Linked DNA regions of Homo sapiens: region 1 is linked to region 2. Evidence: promoter capture Hi-C in human tissues and cell types (Jung and others, 2019). All regions are on one chromosome and are shown on one strand. Each heading gives the region's core, a stretch centred on a gene start or on the middle of the fragment in contact. The rest is flanking DNA. Distances are from core to core; before and after follow the strand shown.

What was found. The method cuts DNA at HindIII sites, captures the fragments that hold promoters and counts their contacts. A contact is called where the count stands out against the background at its distance.
Region 1: a contact is called between a fragment that was not itself captured here and the fragment with the promoter of FOXL2 in region 2, in 2 of the 25 tissues and cell types used here (H1 embryonic stem cells and thymus).

The regions. Positions count from the first base shown.
Region 1 is chr3:139,034,200-139,040,869 of GRCh38, forward strand. No RefSeq gene overlaps it. Among named protein-coding and RNA genes, the nearest start is that of PRR23C, 7.4 kb to the right of the region's middle. The HindIII fragment of the contact is 8,593 bases long and covers 75-6,670 here.
Region 2 is chr3:138,944,545-138,949,889 of GRCh38, forward strand. It overlaps FOXL2 (forkhead box L2), which reads right to left and starts at 2,593. Exons shown (of 1, transcript NM_023067.4): 1 at 1-2,593. The coding sequence starts at 2,178. The coding sequence ends at 1,048. FOXL2NB (FOXL2 neighbor) reads left to right here and starts at 2,673. Exons shown (of 3, transcript NM_001040061.3): 1 at 2,673-2,920; 2 at 4,976-5,095. The coding sequence starts at 2,821. RefSeq lists an enhancer at 1-568 and a silencer at 2,609-2,837. The HindIII fragment of the contact is 6,167 bases long and covers 1-5,259 here.

The DNA of each region.
Region 1 (6,670 bases), core at 3,121-5,620, 91 kb after region 2:
ATAACTAGTTCCTGGTTTCATCAACAAGGCACACTAAGCACTGAGATGGCCATTTTAGTGATGTGTAGAGCTTGCCTCGAACTTCTAACAGAGTCCCATTTATTGTACATCAAGCAAGTCCCCTTTATTTTATGCTGTGAGGGTATCAACCTGGTTTTTAATGTAAGATCATTTAAAAATATTATCCTTGAAGTTAACTTCTCTAAAGGATCTTTTTTCTTATTTTTTTAAATATAGATTTTAAGAAGACTTTTTGCAACAGTTTTAGGTTTACAGAAAATTGAGTAGATAGCAAGGAATTTCCATATACCATCCCTCCCCCTCACAGTTTCCCCTTCTATTAACTCTTGCATTGCCATGAGACCCTTGTTAGAATTCGTAAGCCAATACTGATACATCATTATTAGCTAAAGTCCATAGTTTACACTGAAGTTCACTCTTTGTGTTGTACAGTTCTATGAGTTTTGAAAAATGCATAACGTCCTATATCTACCATCATAGTATTATCCAGAATAGTTTCATCCCCCTAGAGGTCCTCTGTGTTCCACCCATTCACTCCTCTTTTCACCTCCAAACACTTGACAACCACTAATATTTTTACTGTTTCCACAGTTTCATCTTTTCCAGAATGTCATAGAGTATGTAGCTTTTTCAGATTAGTTTCTTTCACTTAGTAATATGCATTTTAAGACTTCCCCGTACCTTTTCATGATTTGATAGATCATTTCTTTTTATAGCTGAATAATATTTCATTGTATGGATGAACTACAGTTTGTTTATCCATCTACCTATTGAAGGACAGCTTGGTTGCTTCCAGTTTTTGGAGCAATATGTTTTTAGTGGTTCCTATCAATTTGCGTTAAAACCCAAGGGCTTGTCCGGATTGCTTATGCACAAATAGACAAAGAGATTTTTGTAGTTTGGGATGCCTAGAGAAAGAGGCTGTTGAACGTCTTTTTCAGGTTACAGAAAACCTGTTCACTTTTGATTTCCTTAGGAGAGGGTCTCTTACTGAGGACTTAGTCAATTCATAAAACGGTATTTCAATCCTAGAAAAATTTGGCACTCATTGTCTGTAATATCCAGTTAAACTCCAAAATACTCTTAGTTGTCTTTTGTGAGGGGTCTAGAATATTTTTGGATAGTCTTTAGCGTATCAGTAGAGAATGGTTTATCTTCCTCAGTTAGGTCATGCTCTAAATAATAGGCTGCAGTTTGGAAAAAATTGTAAGTTATCTTTTGAAACGTTTATGTTTCTTTTCTGCTAAGGCTAGGGGCAACTAAACGGAATCCTTTTTATAGACTTCCTTGTTCTCTGAATAAAGTAGGATATCATTTACATTTTATGTCAGAACTGAATCGCAAGGGGAAATTTTAGGTCTTTTAAGTCTTGATTGAAGACCTGGGAAAATTGGAGGGGGCTCTAGTGAACTCCTGGGGTATGACTGTCTAAGTACATTATTGTCCGCCTTAGGTGAATGCAAAAAGGTATTGACTATCCTTATTCAGAAGTACACTGAAAGAGGCAGAGCAAAGATCCGATACTGTGAAGCAAATAACTTCAGGTGGAAATTTATGACAGAATGGTATTTGGGTCAAGTTCTATCAGGAAATGAAGTATAATGATTTTCTTGATGGCCTTGAGGTCTTGAACAAATTGGGTCAAGTTCTATCAGGAAATGAGGTATAACGATTTTGTTGATGGCCTTGAGGTCTTGAACAAATTGGTATCTTTGTCGCTTTGTTTCTTTACTCGGAGGATGGGAGTGTTACAACGGCTAGTGCAGAGTATGAGAAGACTTTTGTATGTAAGGCCTTTAACCATAGTTTGAGCCCTTCCTTTGGCTTCAAGGGATATTGGAGAAGTTTGAGTAATGGCTTGGTAGGATCTATCTGAACTTTTATAGATTCTGCTCTCGTTATTTTTCCTATGCCAGTGAAATTTTTAGCCCATAGAAGGTCATGGAATAGTGTCAAGATCTTTATCTGGGGTATGCATCAAATAAAATACAGAATGCAAAGGTATATTCAGAACAAACACAACTTGATTATGAATAGAGGAGTCCTCTGGAAACTTAAGAAATGCTCCCTCTGGTGTGCATTTATGATTGCAATCTCATGTATAAAGTATATCTCTCCTTATTAAATTTGCAGGTGTATTATCACAGAACAAGAAGGAATATTTCCAGGCAAAGGCCCAAGGGTTACAGTTAAAGGCTGGAAGACAGGGAAAATTTGTGTTATTTGAAATGCCTGCCACCTGTGCAGTACCATTACTCTGAAGAAGAGAGCACAAAGGCACAGTATTTAATGTAGAAATGGTAGCCCTTGCATTAATTTTTATTGGAAGTGTTTTGGGTATGGCTTCTCGGAGACTTCACCTTACTTTTCAGGGTTTTTCTGAACTGCAGGTTTTTTATGGAAAGAGATATCCTGTAGGTCCTCTGGGTCAGTCCAATCAACTTTTGCCATCTAGGATTTAGCATCTGTGGTTCTGACCCATATGTGTATGAGTTGATATAAGTCAGGTAATTCTGGGTCAGGTGTACCCAAAAGGATTTTAAACTATTCTATGAATATTTACTAGTCTTGTCTGCATTTAGGGAAACTTACAGCTCTTAATTCCGCTCAGGTCCAAGCTTTAAATTCGCCAGTTGTCTGAATACCTGGTTCATGGAGGGATGGGTCTTAAGAGGCAACTGGCATTTTAGGTTTTGGAGAAAGTTGTTGGGAAAAGGTAGGGGGCCTGAACAAGGACAACTGGAGGGAGGAGTTGATGGAGGTATAGAAGGAGAGAGATTGGGAGGATAAGGGGCAGAGGGAGATCTGGTTATAGAGAGGGAACTGGTGGACGAGGACAGAGGATTTACCAGGGAAATGAATCTAGTTCATTGTTGTCAAACTGCACATTAGCTTTGGCCAAATAATCTTTTAATGAAGCCATTTTCGATTTAGAGTTTCATCTGGAGACCTCTATATAACTAAAAATGCTGCTCATTGAACATGAGAAATTTTATTTCCATTTTTTTCTAAGGTGCCTCTCAAGTGAATGATTTCAAGTTAAATGTTCTCCACAGTAGCCATTAAAGGCTCACATCACCCTTGGTAAAATTATGCCATTTAGAAAGACAGGGACAAGAATTAGGATTCTAAATGAGAACACATATAAGAAGCAGGCATTTTTTTCTGTAAAAGGAGAGGATTTAGACTTAGATAACTCCATAAGAGATGGTGATGGTCAGCAAAATGTGGTGCTGGTGCTTCTGTGTCAGAGGCTCCCAAACTGATAGTCAGTGCCTCTGAATGTGGACTGTGGTAGATGGAAAACCAGAGAGAACACTTTCTGGATCAAAGCCAAGCTCTAAAAACAAAACATAAAAACAGGAAAACCTCACCCACTTTTATTGATAATCCACAGAAAAGTTTGTCCAAATGGAAGCTTATCTGGTGAGAACTGCAAACTCACCGACTGTGAGGCCTGCCCAACTCACCGGACTGTGAGGCTGGCTCAAACAACAGGCGTGTAGAGCCTATGACTGTGTTGTACCCTGCGATTTTCTTTCTTGTGATAAACAACAGTTTTAGACCATACAACACAAAATGGAAACACAAAAGCGAGTAAAAGGAGATGAAAAGAAATGGTTTGATTCCATCAAGGCTGCCGAACAAATGGAACTGATAACGAAACGTGGATACCAAACTGAGAGTAAATGGACAGGGAACTCAATGCAAAGAAAGAGTTCAGACCTAGTGCTGACTTACCACACTGGGCTGTGTGTACCATATCTCACAAAAAAATGGAAAATAAGCGAAGACCACCTAAATGGGAACAAGCAGAGGCAATTTATTTAGAGCTTTCTATAGCAAGGGAGTTAGCCCCATCACTTGCATTTGATAGAGACTTATTGGCAGGCAGGTGAGTTGGAAAATTTTATAGTGAAAAAGGGGAAGGCTTCAGATATGTCTGATTGGAAGTTGCTGGCATAGGGAAGCTGGAGGTGGACTAACTAGAGGTGGGGCATCCTATGTGATTGGTTGGTTTGTGCACCTTGTATCTTAGGCATAGCATATTTGGCTTTTTCTGGTTGGTCCTGAGTTGGAAGTGAGGGTGAGAATTAGAACACCTGGCAGTTATTGAACAAGTCTGGACCATTTTGGGGCCAGTTACTGCAGAGACTATGGTTTGGCTTCTGGGATAGTTGCTGCAGAGGTTATGGGTAAGATTTCTACTGTCATGTGTGGTCTGGACATTGTTCATTTGTATTTTCGGTCTCTCAGATCCCATTATCCCCTTGGCTACCAAGGAGTTCAGCTCTCTAATGGCATTTCCTGCCCTTACCTTGGCCTAATGGGTTTCTCAATGACCCCAGTGCCTCTCTAGGGCATTTGTTTGTTATGCAATGTCCCTTGAGGCCCTCCCACACATCATAGTAGCTGATGTATTTTACAGCCTTAGGTAGTATGTGCACTGTATCATATCCACTTCTCTGGATGTTTTGATCCTTTTCTCTGCTGTCTGCCTTGGCAGTTATGGCATTCCTACTTAACGTAGTATGGGACATCTTTTTCTCTAACCCTGCAAGATCCACCCATCAGATTGTTAGCACTCTCTTACAGCATCCTTGCTACGGTGTTAAATCATGTATCTTGGGAGAGTGCTTCTAAATTGAGAAACTCTCCCTTCTCTAGGCTAACATCCAGCATTCTCACTCTTATACTTGACTCCTGCTGTTATATGTTGGGTGACACCCACAGCAATTCTAGGGCATATAGAGCCCCTTTCCTTAGTTACAGGCCAGTATTTCCCTGGCTGGGTTATAACATGCTTTAGTTACTGGCCTGTGGCAAAGAGGAGGTAGTTCTCGAGGTGGGTGCATGTTATCTTGCTAGGCAGAGGCTTCTGCAACATCTTATGCAAGGATGGAGTGCCAACCTTTAATAGAGAGGAGTAGGCCACTTCTACAGGCCAAGAGGATTGAAGGGGGTTTGGGATTCAAGATATTCAAGTGAATCTACTTGGTTATCTTCATCCAGTGTTTCAGGGCTCAGTCTGGGCTGGGACCTTACCATTACAGACTTTCCTAGTTTGAGGATTCAGCCTTTATACTGCCACTATCCTTGCAGTAAACTCTGGGCCAGATCCTCAGTTGTGTTTCCCCCCGTTAGCTACAGGAGATGAAAGGCTATTTGTATGCTGCCAAGGAATGTGTCTAGATTTCATATTTGGGTTTTATTGGTAATTAATCACCCTCCGACTTTCACTTTCTTTCTCAAATGCATTTATTGTCCCAGAAACAGCTATTCAATTCCCCATTATTTATAACTATCATGCATATAATTACTCTGTGCCCCCAATTTTTCTAATGCCTGGGATTCTGCCAATGCCAGTATGTTGCCTTCTTCCACATTCCCAGTTAGTTTGCCATTGATTAAGATCTTATTTGCTTTCCTGTAACATGCCATGGGCTATTCATGCTCCATGATTCAGCTCTGAAATCCATTTTAGTGGCTACTTCCTATGACAGCCCCTGGCACCAGCTATCTTAAATTGGCTTGGGAAGACTTTGCAATGGAGATTTGCATGCAGAAATTTTGGGGAACAAAGAAAATGTGACAGGACAGATGGAGGATTGAACTGGGATGCAGCTGCAACAAAGCCTCAGCCAACTCACTGAGAGCCCTAGAATTGGGATGATTCTTCAGAGTTGTCTCAACTTAAAGCAAGTGAGCTGGACCTGTATACCCTCTAATTGAACAGTTATTGGCATGAATTACCCACAGAGGCTGAGGGTAATTCCTGGAGAACAACTGAATTTAGCTGCTAATACTCCCAGCAGTCTTGATGGGATTGGGACTATGGACAGTCCAGCCCAGTGTCACTACTGCATTGAAATTGGAAGTTGGGCCATGTATGATTACTTGAGGATGGGAACTGTGATTTTTGAGTTGCAAATCATATGAGCTCCATAATGTTTGGCTCTGAGTCTTGACTCCTAGGGAGCAAGAAAGAGGCAAATGTAAAATTCAAATAAGGAGCAGACATGCCTGTAATCCCACTACTTTGGGAGGCCAAGGTAGGAGGATCGCTTGAGCCCAGGAGTTTGAGATCAGCCTGGGCAACAGAGAAGATTCTCTCTACAAAAAATAAAAATATAAAACATTAGCCAGGTGTGGTGGCATGTTCCTGTAGCCCCAGCTACTGGGGAGGCTGAGATGGGAGGATTGCTTGAGCATGAGAGGTCAAGGCTGCAGTGAGCACTGCACTCCAGCCTGAGAGACAGAGTGAGACCCTGTCTCTAAAAAACAAAACAAATTTGGAACAGAAAATGAATGCACATTCAAAATATGTCCACATACCAAATTTTTGCCCAGGGGAAAATCAGTGTCATTAAATGCTATCAAATAATTGGAGATGTTATGCCTGAGGAAATATAATTATTGAGCTAATTAATATAGAATTTAAAATAAGAGTGTTTAATTTCTTCTAGAGATAAAGGAGGAGATAACATCCGTGAAACTAGAAAAATTTATATGACATTGATCAGAAGTTGTGAAATAAGAGCATATAGATATTAAAAACCCAAGTAATCAGAAGTCTTAAAAATGAAAAATGCAGTATTTGAAATAAAGTCTTATAAAGAACAATAAATGAATTCTGAAAACAGACAAT
Region 2 (5,345 bases), core at 1,343-3,842:
GCATCGAAAGATCCGGGGACATTTGTTTTTGATTTTTTTCTTCAGATAGGGAGAGGGTGAAACTTCCCCAATTGGTAGACGAAACCATCTTTTATTGGATATATTCTCCTAACTCTGAACACAGCTTTTTGAAGGCCCAACAAAAACTCTAACGCAAATCTTCCAGAAGAGAAGATGAGGAATACTAAAGCTTTTGATTTTCATATTTGGATTTAGCAAACTCCAAGGCCACAATACTTCCCCGGTTGCCCGGTGAATTTTTTTTCCTTTTTTTTTTTTTAAATACTCTCTTAAAAAGTTCCACCGATCTTTCAAACAAAACATTAGCCAGCCGCCGGGGCCCGGAGGTGCCCGAAGCGACGGGACTGATAGCGGAGGAAACGCAGCCTCCCTCCGCGCCCGCCCGCGGTGTAAACCGAGTACAGGCCGTGGAGCCAGGCTGCCCCGGCTCCCGCTGGGTCCCAACCCCCGCCCCGCCTAGTGGGCCCCGCGGCAAGCGGCTTCTGAACAGCTTCAAGAGGGTTCGCGGAGCAAACACACGTATTGGTCCGTCCCTTTCTCGGGCAGCGCGGTCCCGCCATCAGTCCTGTCCGGCGCGTCTAGCCATGGACTGCACGGCAGTCGGGCGGGGAACGCGGAGAGCGAGCGCACCGACCTGTGAGAGAAGGCCAAGAGGTCTGCGCTGCCGACGCCCGGTCGCACCTCCGCCCCGGGCCCTTTCCGCGGTGAATTTGGGCAGGAGACGCTGGGGCTCCGGAAAGAGACGAGCCCAGTAGAAAGCGCGCAGAGAGGCAGCTTCAGGCCAGGGGAGTGCAAGGTCACAGAGGTCAGGGAGGTGAGCACAGGAGGACATAAACTGAGGGGACAAAGAGGAGCGACAGGAGCTTAGGAAAGCGAAAAAGCACAGAGGGACCCTGGGCGCTGGCTCCAGAGGCGGGCCCAGAGGGTGTGAGGTCAGGCTGGCGGCGGCGTCGTCGGCTGCGACCGGGGCCGGCGTCGCGCGTCCCTGCATCCTCGCATCCGTCTGCACCGGCATGCGGTGGGCTCTCAGAGATCGAGGCGCGAATGCAGCGCGCCGGTCTTGCTGTCGTGGTCCCAGTAAGAGCAATGCATCATGGCGAGCTCGGGCTGCCGGGCACAAGCGAACTGCAGGCCCGGCGCACTGGTGGGCGCGGGCGCCGGGGGCGCGGCGGTGGCTGGGCTGGCAGGGCTGAGCTGGCCCGGCGGCGGCGCGGCGGCCCCGTGGTGCGGTGGGGCAGGCGGCGGTGCGGCGGCCGCGTGCAGATGGTGTGCGTGCGGATGCGGGTGGGGGTGCGGCGGAGGCGGGGGTGCGGCCGGCGGGCCTCCCAGGCCATTGTACGAGTTCACTACGCCGGGGGGCAGCGCCATGCTCTGCACGCGTGTGTACGGCCCGTACGAGGCGGCCGGGCCCGCCAGCCCCTTGACCACAGCGGCCGCGCCAGGGCTACCGGGGCCCGCGGCTGCAGCCGCAGCTGCTGCAGCCGCTGCGGCTGCCGCCATCTGGCAGGAGGCATAGGGCATGGGTGAGGGAGGCTGCGGTAGCGGCCACGAGTTGTTGAGGAAGCCAGACTGCAGGTACTTGGGGGGCGCCAGGTAGCCGTAGCCGTCGGCCCCGGCGCCCGCCACGCCGCACCCGCCTGCGGCGCCTCCGGCCCCGAAGAGCCCCTTGCCGGGCTGGAAGTGCGCGGGCGGCGGCCGGAAGGGCCTCTTCATGCGGCGGCGGCGCCGGTAGTTGCCCTTCTCGAACATGTCTTCGCAGGCCGGGTCCAGCGTCCAGTAGTTGCCCTTGCGCTCGCCGCCGCCCTCGCGCGGCACCTTGATGAAGCACTCGTTGAGGCTGAGGTTGTGGCGGATGCTATTTTGCCAGCCCTTCTTATTCTTCTCGTAGAACGGGAACTTCGCGATGATGTACTGGTAGATGCCGGACAGCGTGAGCCTCTTCTCCGCGCTCTCGCGGATCGCCATGGCGATGAGCGCCACGTACGAGTACGGGGGCTTCTGCGCCGGGTCCGGCTTCTCCGGGGCTGTCCCGCCGCCACCCCCACCGCCCTTGCCTGGGCTCGGCGGCGGCCCTTCTGGCTCCTTGACTGTGCGACCGGTCTCTGGGGCCAGCAGGGCCCCCGCCGCGTCCTCGGGCTCGGGGTAGCTGGCCATCATGACAAAGCCGGCGCGCCGCGGCCGGGCCGCCTCTGCTCTCCGCTCCAGGCGCTGGCGCGGCAAAGAGTTGGGGCGCACGAGTCCGCTTACGGCCAAGTCTCAAACTTCTGGAGACTGCGGATGCCGCCCGCGCTTGCTTGCTGGAGGCCTGTCGCTGCTCTCCCCTCTCCTTCCCCTTCCCCTAGGGAGCGGCCGGCGGGAGTGGAGCTCAGCCTCTGGCCATGGGGAGTCCGCCCAACAGAGAGGGGCTCCGGCCTCGCCGCCCCTCCCCGCTCAGGCCAGTCCCCGCCTTGGTGGGTTTTCTTTTCTGCGCTCTTCCCCTCCCCCCGCCCCCCGGTTTCCCGAAGCACGACCCGCGTCTCTGGCGGAGCTGCCTCCTGGAGTCCCTAGTGCGCCAGGAGCCTCGCTCTGTTCTGATTCGTATGGGCTCCACCGAGTTCCGCTTGCGTCAGGCGCCTTCGCCCCTATAGCGGGGCGGCCAGCCGCGCACGGGCGAGTTCATCTCCAAGTCACTTTTTGTAAACGCCCCGCACAGCCTGGACCGGCCTGCCCCCGCCCAGCGAGCCTCAGGGGCCCAGCCGACAGCCAGGCTCACGCGCCCTTGAAATCTGCCGGTACTCGCTCTGCGGGCTGGGCTGGGAGATGACGAGGACCCCGGTGGGGTCTGCCCGCACCCGGCCAAAGCCCAGGAAGCTCGGGCCCCAGCGAGGAAAGGCGCTCCAAGCCTCCTCGCGGCTTTCAGGTGAAAGAAAACGACTCCTTTGCTCTGCCGTTTGCTGCCGTCTTGAGGCTGAACTTCTAGCTCGGGGCTGGGGAGGGGCGAGACGGCGAGGGGGCTGGACGGGGTAGGGTGGGGAGAGCTGCTCTGAGGCTTTGGGAAAGTCAGCCCAGAAACGGGTGTGACTGTACGAAGAAGCCTCGGCCTGGCCTGTCCCTCGCGCTCTCAGAGTGACTGGGCTGGAATGGGGCAGGGGAGAGGATCTCTGGAAATAGTCGTCAGGGGCGCCGCCTGAATCACCTCTGCCTCTCCCTGCGTTACCAGTGGATCTAGGAACCAGGAATCCGTGTACTAATCCTACGGGGTTGGAGTGAAGGTTGGATGTGTGCTTTAACAGCACCAAGTAGATGCCCCTCAGCTATTGCACTAACACAGGCGGGGCTGTTGCCCGGGACTTTGCGGGACTGTGTATGTGTGTGCACAGGGGTCACATATGGAAGTCATGGAGAGGAGCTGTCCTTGAGATGGGTGAGATACCAGGTGCATGTGTGCTGCTCAGAAACACAGGTATGCACATGTACAAGGTGTGAGATTTGTATTTACGAGGTAAAACACACTTATACTGATAGTTATGTAATATGTTCATCAAGTATTAGAGTAAATGTAGCTGGTGGATATAGCATCTTCTCTTTTTCTCCTTTCTTACTTCTTTCCTTCCCCCCTTTCTTCCTTTCTTTCACAATTCTTCGATGCCTCTTTCCCTCCCAGTGTATGTATTTTGCCACAGACTGGGAAGACAAACATCAGGCTGAGGGAGGGACTTGTTCAAATCTCTCTCCTGATGAGACATTTGTTCTGATCTTTCTCCAAAGAATCAGGAGTTAGTTGTCACCTACCTTAAGCAGAATTCTGATGGGAATCCAATTATTTCAGCATGTACAGAGATTGTTTCAGGGAAAATCAGGTGTGCCTTTTAACAGTGTGCTCCTTAACAGTGCCTTTTAACTTGGCCTAAACAAAAAGTCTGCAGTCATAAAGTATGAGAGAGATGGCCAGTGTTTTGAATCCTCAAGCCCCAAACTCCTTGGTGCTGAGGAGGGGGGCAAGGCCACCTTATGGAGGAAGGTGGACTGAATGGATGTCATATAGCTGTGCATTAGTGATTGGCATGTCTGGAGTGGCTGACTCAATGCCTGTCACTGCCTCTTCCTCCCAGGCTGTTTAGACTCTGAGGGTTCTCCTGAAGCCCAAGGAGCCTTCAGCGGCCTGTGGTTCCAGCATCCACAGGCCATCTACAAGTGTTGTCTGCTGCTCACTCAGGCCTCTGATCTGCATTCTGAGATGAAAGGGAGGGAGGACAAGGGTGGTAGGGCTCTTTGGAATTCAGCATCTTGAAGATGACACCAGAGAGGTCAGCAGGGCAGCCCTTGCCTGGTCACAAGGATGAGAGGGAGCAAGGCTATCCCCAAAGTAGCTTGGTTTTTTTTATGGGCGGTCTCCCACTGCACCCAACAGACATGGGGGAAGCAGCACTTCCGCAGAATCCCTGCTGCTGCTTTCTGAGCAGGAGTGCAGATGTTTTTCTTCTTCCTTACCCCCATCCTTGCCCAAGCTTTGGGTGGGAGTGGTGAGTCCGGTTTGGGGCTGCTGCAGATTGGCCTCAGTGCCTATCCTCCCCCAGCCAGGGCCTGGGCAGGGGGAAAAACAGCTGGGTCTGGCCCCATCCTGGTGGGGGCTCCTCTCTCCTTTTCTCTCCTTTTTTTTTTTCTTGACCACCCAGGCTGGCTCTCTGCGTCTCTCTGTCTTTCTTTCTTCTTCTCACAGGCATTTCCGCTGCTCAGCCCTGCAGCAGCCAGGTGTAACAGCATTGTTGTGTGTGTCATCACTTCCCTGAATTCCACACTCGGCTCCCTTTTCAGCCTTTAAAGAGCCTGTGTGTGTATGCATGTGCGTGTGTGTGTGTGTGTGTGTGTGTGTAGGGGTTGGGGGCAAATGAAGGAGTTCCTCTGAAGGATTTTCAGAATAGAAAGGAGTTCTGCTCTGAAAATACTGATTTCTGACTGTCCCGTAGAGGAACAGAATCCCCAGCCCTGGTGAAGAAGAGGATGCCTGATGCGTGCACCCTGGGAAGGGCTGGAATCGGTCTCCCCAAGATGTGCCTTCACATGGCTGTCCGGCATTCGAAGGCTCAGAAAACAGGCAAGAAAATGCGGGCGGGAAAGCTGGCAGAATGATTACTTTCAGGTCCCCTCCAGGCTTCTGCGGAAAAGCCAGGGGCTTCGGGCTGGAGATAGAGGAATCTAGGGAGAGAACAGAATCCTCTCCTTGCCGGCCCAGCCAGAGGTGGGTGAACCGGGCGCTCCAGGAAACGGTGCGGGGCGCCCTGATTTACTTCTCAACCTTCGGAGGTAGGCTGGTTGCTGGCGAGGTCGGGATCCTCTCTGAACAG